2 separate regions of the Homo sapiens genome follow, and region 1 is linked to region 2. The links are contacts of gene promoters, found by promoter capture Hi-C in human tissues and cell types (Jung and others, 2019). All regions are on one chromosome and are shown on one strand. The core of a region is centred on a gene start or on the middle of the fragment in contact, and the rest is flanking DNA. Distances in the headings are between cores, read along the strand shown. Region 1 overlaps SAMTOR (S-adenosylmethionine sensor upstream of mTORC1). Region 2 holds the start of GPR85 (G protein-coupled receptor 85).

Region 1 (4,681 bases), core at 1,516-4,015, 160 kb after region 2:
AGTGGAGACTTTGCTGTTTTATCATACAGTACTTTTGGAGCTCCTGTTTTTACTAGTCCTTGCTAATTAGCAAAAGCAGCAGGATCCCTACCCTCCTTAAGTAACAAAAATAATAGAGATGTTAACCGTAGCTATTCTGTCTTTATGTCTTCAGGGTAGCATTAAGGATTGGATGGCTCCTGGGCATTATCCCTGCCCCTCTTCCTTCCCCCACCAATTCAAGTAAAATTTTCTAAAATGTTCCTCTTTAAATCAGAAGTACTGTTGTACTGGAAGTTTAGCAGCATAATGTTTTTAACAACTTTAAATCTAGATTATTAAGGATTATGGTTTAGAGTCCGATCTTCAGGCCTCTTTTGAAATGACCTCTTCGTGGTTGGTCTTTTAGGCCAGTTTATTGTAATGTAAACTCTTGAAACAAAGATCTGGGTTTTTATTAATCATCACAAACCCCATCCCCACAAACACAGTTGTGTACAGCACCTAGCACAGAATCCTACATAAGTAAGTGCCCCTACCTAAGTGCCCCTCTTACCTTGTGCTTCCATAGCATGATTGTGCCTACCTTTATGGTATTTATAACTTACCAGTTCATTTGTCTGTTTTATCTACTAAACTTAGTTTCTTGAGTAAAACTCTGCCTTTTATCTCTGTAGCCTTAGTACATAGCACCAGGCCTTGTAGATTTAAGGCACACGCACAGAAGAAGCTAATGTAAATATTTCCAGATAGTTGAGTTTTATCTTTTTATATTCATAACTTTAAAATTTTAACTTGTGGATACCCATGTTTTCTAATTTATGCTCATGTCTTCTTAAATTGAGTATATTAGATTAATTTTACCCTTTTTTAAATGGTCCAAGTTATTCTGAATAGCATTCTATTTTTCTATAAATATAATGGTAAATATATCCTTACACTCATTATGGTATCTTTATTTGTTCTCATAAGGATGTTGTAGTGGGTATAATGTATGTCTCTCTGTATGTTGGTAATAAAAATGGTAATAGTGAGCTGGGTACGGTGGCTCATGCCTGTAATCCCAGCACTTTGGGAGGCCGAGGCGGGTGGATCACGAGGTCAAGAGATAGAGACCATCCTGGTTAACTTGGTGAAACCCTGTCTCTACTAAAAATACAAAAAATTAGCCGGGTGTGGTGGCATGTGCCTGTAGTCCCAGCTACTTGTGAGGCTGAGGTAGGAAAATCACTTGAACCTGGATGGCGGAGGTTGCAGTGAGCCGAGATTGCACCACTGCACTCCAGCCTGGGTGACAGAACGAGACTCCATCCCGAAAAAAGAAAAAAAAAAAAAAAGTAATAGTTTTGTGTATTTGTTTATATTTACAGATAAAAATTTTTCAACCCCAATATATCAGTCTCTTAAATTTGAAGTGAAATTTATACTAGTTACAAAATCTAACATCTGACAACCACTAAACTATACTGACCTATTGTGCTTTAAGTGTAGATACACTAATACCCATTGCTGTGTTTATTTTAGAATAGGTGGTTAATCTTCATGCATTTAGAGCAGCATGTGAGTATCCATTTCCATTTATATAGAAATTAGGGTAAGACTTTTTAATTGAACATATGAAAATTAAGTTCCAAAAGGCTGTTCATAAATCCTTTTGTTTGAAAGTTGAAAATTAAACTAAGCAAGTGCTCTGTGTGGTCATAGACCCACCTGTGAAGTTCACTTTCACAAGGGAATAACATGTTGGTGACATTGGTTATGATTTTTCTTGATTTCTTTCCATCTGCCTTATAGGATGTGTTCACAGACTTGCATTTTGGAGTAAGTATTTTTATCGTTGATATGTTTATAATAAAAGGCTGTTCCAAGAACAGAAGATACACCGTGAGCCAGTGTTTGTAGATATTAAGTTTAATCCATGCATTGATTTGTTTTGTTGTGTTTTTTTTTTTGTTAATTAAATTGGACTCTTAAGGTTGTCCCAACCCCCTGCTCTCTATATTATTTTGCCAGGCTTTTAAGCTCACAACCTTGCTATACACCATTGGTTTTAAGCCATAGCTACACGTTGGATTCATCCGGGGAGTGTTAAACTAAATGACCAGTTGCCACTCCAGACCAGTTAAATGAAACTTCTGGGTGATTCCAATGTGCAGCCAGAATTGGCAGCCAGAGTTGAGAACCACTGCCAGAAATCTAACAAATAATGCAGTTGCAGAGACTAAATAACTGCATTTGACTGACAAAAGACCATTTGTTTGTGGTTAGTAGAGTCTGTGTACTTTCCTCTGTTGCAAAGCTTTGCTCATATCCATGAAAGTTCATGAATTAAAAACTTATGAAGAGAAGCAAAGTTTGTGGTTAGGAGCATGACTTTAGCTTTTGACTACCAGGTTTGTTGTGTAACCTTGGAAAAGTTTACTTAATCGCTCTACTTCAGTTTCCTCATCTATAAAGTAAAATATCTGCCTCAATGGATTGGTATTATAATTAAATGAGTTAATATTTGAAAAGCACTTAAAACAACATTTGGCATATAGGAAACACACTAAGCTTGTAAAATACAGAAATTTAAAAATAACAGCTCTTTTATCTGTAGCTATACTGCTTCAATGCATTTAAGGACTATGACATTAAAGACTGGATGGCTCCTGGAATTTTTACCTAGACTGTTCTGTAGTCTTCTCAGTATTAAAATGACTTTTTCTTTTTCTTCTTTTTTTTTTTTTTGCCCCTTTTGCTGTTTGTGTTTCTAAGTTTTTATATGAAAAGTCCAACCTTTTTAGCATGTCAGAATATTGGTGGTGTTTTCTTCCCACATTAGAGAAATGACTATTCATAACATGTTGGCTATAAGATGCAGGTTTTCAAACTTTTTGTTTTCTGGTTACTTTTTGGCTCTTAATTACCAAACACCTTGGATGTTTTTTATCCCACTTTTAGATGTGTCACTGTATCAGGTGCTCAAGAGCTGAGAAGACTGGTCGTTGTATGGCTTAACTATGTAAGACAATCTGAATTCTGAACATTTTGTTTTAATGCCTTGAAATGGTAGCTGAACTTGTTTGCACTTAGTCATGAGTTTCTTTACTTACCTTGTGTTAGAGAAAATGACCATTAAAGGTACTTTGAACTTGAATTTGGTAGTCTTGTCATCTACAGATAAGGCATCTTAGGGCCCGTATTTGGCAATATGCCTAAGTCAGAATCAAATAAATTGTTCTGAATTTCTAAAAGTTTAAGACTTTTGATACTCATGTATTTTTTTGCTTTTTTAGAGAATTTGATGGCCCTCAAATTTAATGAAATATAATCTTAATTTTGTAACATATACCATGCTTGTGGCACATCATTTTTAAAAATTAAATTTATTGAGATATGATTCATGTACAGTAAATTGTGTCTTTTTAAAGTATATAATTCCGTAAGTTTTGACAATGCATGCATCTCTGTAAAACCATTACCACAATAAGGCGTAGAACATTTTCATCACTGCCAAAATTTTCTCATACTTCTTTGCAGTCGGTCTCTCTCTATACTCTCAGTCTCACATGTCTTTTCACTATAGATTCACCTCCATTTATTTTCGTTTCTTAGCTATTGTGAGTAATGCTGCAATGATTATAGGATTGCAGATATCTCTTTGACATACTGATTTCATTTCCTTTGGATAAATACCCATAGTGGGATTGCTGAATCATGTAGTAGTTTTATTTTTAATTTTTTTAGGAACCTCCATACTGTTTTGGCTGTACTAATTTACATACCCAACATAAGTATACAGGATTCACTTTTCTTCACATCCTCACCAATGCTTGTTATCTCTGGTCTTTTTGATAATAGCCATCCTAACAGATGGGAGGTAGTATCTTATTGTGGTTTTAATTTGCATTTTCCTGATGATTAGTTTTGTTGAGCACCCTTCTATATACCCATTGGCCATTTTTTGTGTTGTCTTTGGAAAAATATCTATTCAGGTCATTGCCCATTTTTTAGTCAGATTATTTGTTTTTTTGCTATTCAGTTTGAGGTTTTTTTTATATATCTTTTGGATATTAACCCCTTATCAGGTATATGGTTTGTAAATATATTTTTATCTTAAAATGGCATCACATATATACTTGCTAACTTATTTTCTGTGCTTTGTATGTTTTAAAAAGGAGAATTAGGATAGAGTTATTGAGAAAAAATATTATTTTTATACACATCAAGTATATAAAAATCAAGTGGTCCTGGCATGTAAAAATGCATGAACCTTAGCACCACCTATTCATTTTTTTCACATATAAGTAATTCTTTATCTATTTGGTGGTGTTACTGTTCATTTCTCCTTGAGCTAATAAATTTTTCGAAAAGATCTGTGTACTGCTATTAAAGAACTTAATGGATATGACTGGACTGTCAGCTGCAAGGTTTTCTTTTGACAATAACACAAAATGAAAAAGCCTTTTTAATAAGCTTAAAACAATGGTCTCTAGAAAAATGACATTGAAATTATTGCTTTTCTGACCTTGGAACTCTTACTTTGAAAACAGTAACTATTGTGAAAAATTTAAATTCTGCTTTTGAGTGACTGCTATTTATTGAAAGCCATCCTCTGTAGTTTGAATTTTATCTTAGCAACTAATTTAATTTGTTTATACTTTTCATGTTTATTTTTTGAGCATGATGAAAATTTAAATATTTTGTCCTCCACTGACTG
Region 2 (4,867 bases), core at 81-2,580:
CACCACATGGTTTTGAGTTTTGAATTCATTTGCTTTGCAAAAAGTGGAATGTTTTATTTGAATGGAAATGCCCTCAAGTTACTTCCAGCATGGCTGTAGGATTGATTTTTCTAGGTTAAGGGAATGCCAAAGTTTAGTGCCTTGTGTATATTCTTTTCGAAAAAAACAAACTATTATCCATGTATTTAAATGGACGTAGGAAATTCAAGAACAAATCAGGGAAATTTAACATCATTTCAGTATTACCAACATAGGGCTTTGTGTAACGACTGTGACATCAAGATAAGGCTTTACCTCGGCTCATCCAATAGAAATACAGTATGTAAATTAACCCATATTATCTGTATGCTGATTGGCCTGAGTTCCCCTGAATGTCACAATCTCACCACCCAGCAATGAGGTATTTTACTGCTGTCTCAAGATCAGATTATTACTGTAGAGAAGATTTTTATTTTTTGTTTCATTAACAGATTATTATAAAGCAAAAAGCATGCAGAAAAAGAAGCAGACGTTTTACATTGGGAATTAATGAAAGCGTGTCTGCTAGTTTTGGGTAGGAGAACTGGGAAGTTGTTGCTTAAAATTTTATATCACCTCCACAAACAAAACTCTTCGGAAATGGTAAAATAAGAAAATGCATGATTCTAGAGGCATTCCTAAGCACCCACGTGTCAGGCTTTGTGGTGTCTGTGGTATCATCCGACCGTTTGGACTGGTGTAAGTTTTACGTATTTGTTATATTTCTAGTATTTTTCATCTGTAATAACAAAGGGGAAAAAAGGAAACTCGTACACATAACTGCTTTGACATCACCCATCATTGGTCAGCGGAACTTGTAAGAAGGGAAAAGGAATACTGTTGCTTGGTGGGGTGGAATGCCAGGAATAGCCATTTAAACATTTTATAAGCCTGATTCTTTAGTGACATCCTTTAAGGTAGACTGAATGTAAATCATATTGTAGTTGTCCTCTGAACTTAGCTTTCTCCCTACTTTTACGCATATTTGCGTGCATTGGAGAATAGAAGATGACTAACAAAGAGAGAGCTGCCCTAACGTGCCTTCCCTTCTTCCCCATTGAAAAGATTTTTAACTGTGGGAAAAAGATAAATAAATAAATAAATAACTTTTTTTCTTTTTTCCCATTCTTTTCTTGTCTTTTTCCAGCTAACCTGCAAATTTAAAGGTTAGCTGGAGACATCACTTAAAAATAAATATATAAAAGAAGCCTCCGGTGGTTTGGACCACCCTAAAAGAAAAGGGAAGAAAGTGTCTGGGGAAGGTTAGGGTTCCGGGAAGCTGAGGGAGGGGGCGGGCGTCACGGGCACTGTGACTTCCTCGTGCGCTGCCTTTGGGAAGAGGATGGGCCTGAGGTCCTGAAAGGGCCTTTCCAGCCCCCCACTACAAATGCGGGGAGGGAAAAGTTCAGAAGCAGCCACGAAGGGACAAAAGCTTAATGCTGCCAGTTGGATTGGACAGGGCAGTCAATAAACCCAGCCAGCTCTGGAGTCAGGTAGGGGTTCCTGCTGGTTCCACAGAGGCTGAAGCAGCCCCGCCGCCGCCCTCGCCACCGCAGCCGCCGCCGCCGCGGCCCCTGCGTTACTGGGGGAGACGGTGCCGCTGCGACAGGGGAGGACGCGGCTGGAGCTCAAGGAGGCTCCAGCGCGCAGGCGCCGCCGAGCCCTGCCTGGATGCTCAGTCAAGGCACTAAGGCAAAAAAAAAAAAAAAAAAAACAAAAAACAAAAAAAAAAAAAAAAAAAAGAAAAAGAAAAAAAGAAAAAAATCAGCAATTTATAGAAAGAAGCTATAGTCTGTCGGGATATCCAACACCAACAGGTAGGAGGATATACTCTTGGTTAAGTTTGGGGGATGTGGGGGAATGCACAGTGTTGATGAAACTGCAGGTTCACCGAGAAAGAGCCCTCCCTCAGGTTGTGTGTGTGTGTGTGTGTGTGTGTGTCTCTGTGTGTGTGTGTGTGTGTGTGTGTGTATGTGTTTTGTGACAATAAACTGCATAATGGAAGTACATTCAGACAATGCATCTTCAGTAGGGCTTACTGAGAGCTCCATTTCTGGAAAGCCTTACAAGACTGAGGAATATCAGACTGCGAATCACCGGGAACGGTTCCTTTGCAGCACAGAAGCAATCTCTCTCCCCATCTTCGCGTATGTAATGCATGTCTCTCTCCCTCTCCCCCTCCTCCACCCTCCCCCCATTATAAATCCAGGGGTGGCGGATTTCAGGTTTCGTAATGTTGCATGATGCGATCGGTATTTACCCGAGGATGTACCGGTGGGGAAATTAAAATCATCGAACGCAGTTTTGCCTGGGCTTCCACCAGCATATTCCGGGCCAGTGAGAAGTGGCAAAAGAAACACGCTTGGTGGGAATAACAGAGGAAGCCGATTTCCCTGGTGTGGTCCAGGCACCTGCGAGACAATGTGCATTTTGTTTTAAAAAGCAGCCACTTGTGATTTGCAACAAAGGTTATCAGTGTAAATGGGAAAGGCTTAATTGCCCAAGAAATACAGGTTCATGTTATATTCATTTGAATCCAGGCAGCCAAGGTTTACAAATGGAAGTGCATTATTCCTCTGGGTGTGTTTCCCTGTCCAATATTTACATTAACCATTTTAATAATCATGTGGGCTTAAAAGATTTGCCAGAAATGGGGGGTAGGGTGGAGAGGGAAAGACAAATGATTAAATCACATCAAATCTTGGGACAAGTAAGTTCCTATTAATTTTGAAGTTAATTTTGAAATTTTGCTTTAAGATGAATCAACAAATACTCTTATGCAGCATGAATAGTGGCACTTAAGATATATTTTGCACGGGTTCTTTGGACCCACATCAAACAGAGAAGCTGCCTGTGAAACACTGACAGATACTAATAGATCTCAAATAAATGTAGGTAGTGTCTCTGCCTCCTAATAGCAATCTTGTAGATTCCATTGCAATTCTAGTGGTTAATTCCTGGACTGGCATATTTTACAAGAATGGGACATTTTATTCCTTCTCTCCTAAAGTTACCCTATCAAATGTATATTGTCCAAAATAGGGACATTTTAAAATTCACTTAGCTTGAAAAACTAAACAAGCCAATTCTCTGAAATCTCGAGCAAAAATATTTAGTAAAGCAAATATTAGTATTCAAAATTAAAACTTTATTTGCTTCCCCATAAGTGAACAGCTTTGTTAGCACTGTCTGACATCATTGCTTGTTAACTTAAGAACTGATAGGTTTTTTTTTTTTTTTTTTTCAGATATTCTGATGGCAAAACAAGTGGAAGAAAAGAGGAAGCATGACTGCAGATCAGATCAGTTCTCTTTGTGGATTATATTTTCAGTAAAATGTATGGATCTATCTTTTCCTTGTTCTTATATCTAGATCATGAGACTTGACTGAGGCTGTATCCTTATCCTCCATCCATCTATGGCGAACTATAGCCATGCAGCTGACAACATTTTGCAAAATCTCTCGCCTCTAACAGCCTTTCTGAAACTGACTTCCTTGGGTTTCATAATAGGAGTCAGCGTGGTGGGCAACCTCCTGATCTCCATTTTGCTAGTGAAAGATAAGACCTTGCATAGAGCACCTTACTACTTCCTGTTGGATCTTTGCTGTTCAGATATCCTCAGATCTGCAATTTGTTTCCCATTTGTGTTCAACTCTGTCAAAAATGGTTCTACCTGGACTTATGGGACTCTGACTTGCAAAGTGATTGCCTTTCTGGGGGTTTTGTCCTGTTTCCACACTGCTTTCATGCTCTTCTGCATCAGTGTCACCAGATATTTAGCTATCGCCCATCACCGCTTCTATACAAAGAGGCTGACCTTTTGGACGTGTCTGGCTGTGATCTGTATGGTGTGGACTCTGTCTGTGGCCATGGCATTTCCCCCGGTTTTAGACGTGGGCACTTACTCATTCATTAGGGAGGAAGATCAATGCACCTTCCAACACCGCTCCTTCAGGGCTAATGATTCCTTAGGATTTATGCTGCTTCTTGCTCTCATCCTCCTAGCCACACAGCTTGTCTACCTCAAGCTGATATTTTTCGTCCACGATCGAAGAAAAATGAAGCCAGTCCAGTTTGTAGCAGCAGTCAGCCAGAACTGGACTTTTCATGGTCCTGGAGCCAGTGGCCAGGCAGCTGCCAATTGGCTAGCAGGATTTGGAAGGGGTCCCACACCACCCACCTTGCTGGGCATCAGGCAAAATGCAAACACCACAGGCAGAAGAAGGCTATTGGTCTTAGACGAGTTCAAAATGGAGAAAAGAATCAGCAGAATGTTCTATATAATGACTTTTCTGTTTCTAACCTTGTGGGGCCCCTACCTGGTGGCCTGTTATTGGAGAGTTTTTGCAAGAGGGCCTGTAGTACCAGGGGGATTTCTAACAGCTGCTGTCTGGATGAGTTTTGCCCAAGCAGGAATCAATCCTTTTGTCTGCATTTTCTCAAACAGGGAGCTGAGGCGCTGTTTCAGCACAACCCTTCTTTACTGCAGAAAATCCAGGTTACCAAGGGAACCTTACTGTGTTATATGAGGGAGCATCTGTAAATCTTTAGCCTTGTGAAAACTAACCTTCTCTGCTGAGCAATTGTGGCCCATAGCCATATTTTGAGAAGAAATTCAAGAATGGAATCAGCAGTTTTAAGGATTTGGGCAACATTCTGCAGTCTTTGCAATAGTTCACCTATAATCCTATTTTAAATCTCAGAGTGATCCTGCTGACTGCCAGCAAAGGTTTGTAATTAAGAAGGGACTGAACCACTGCCCTAAGTTTCTTTATGTGGTCAAAAACTAGATAATGAAAGTAGCAGGTGCTAAGTATCAGTGCTAAATGCTCTGTATGTCACTACATA

Evidence for each region. Contacts are between HindIII fragments. The study calls those that stand out against the background at their distance.
Region 1: a fragment that was not itself captured here is called in contact with the fragment with the promoter of GPR85 in region 2 in 1 of the 25 tissues and cell types used here (lymphoblastoid cells).

The regions. Positions count from the first base shown.
Region 1 is chr7:112,928,556-112,933,236 of GRCh38, reverse strand. The region is part of intron 1 of SAMTOR (S-adenosylmethionine sensor upstream of mTORC1); the gene reads left to right. Among named protein-coding and RNA genes, the nearest start is that of SAMTOR, 9.0 kb to the left of the region's middle. The HindIII fragment of the contact is 5,138 bases long and covers 197-4,681 here.
Region 2 is chr7:113,083,290-113,088,156 of GRCh38, reverse strand. It overlaps GPR85 (G protein-coupled receptor 85), which reads left to right and starts at 1,330. Exons shown (of 3, transcript NM_001146267.2): 1 at 1,330-1,835; 2 at 2,048-2,165; 3 at 3,266-4,867. The coding sequence starts at 3,436. The coding sequence ends at 4,548. RefSeq lists a silencer at 1,585-1,644. The HindIII fragment of the contact is 9,773 bases long and covers 1-3,609 here.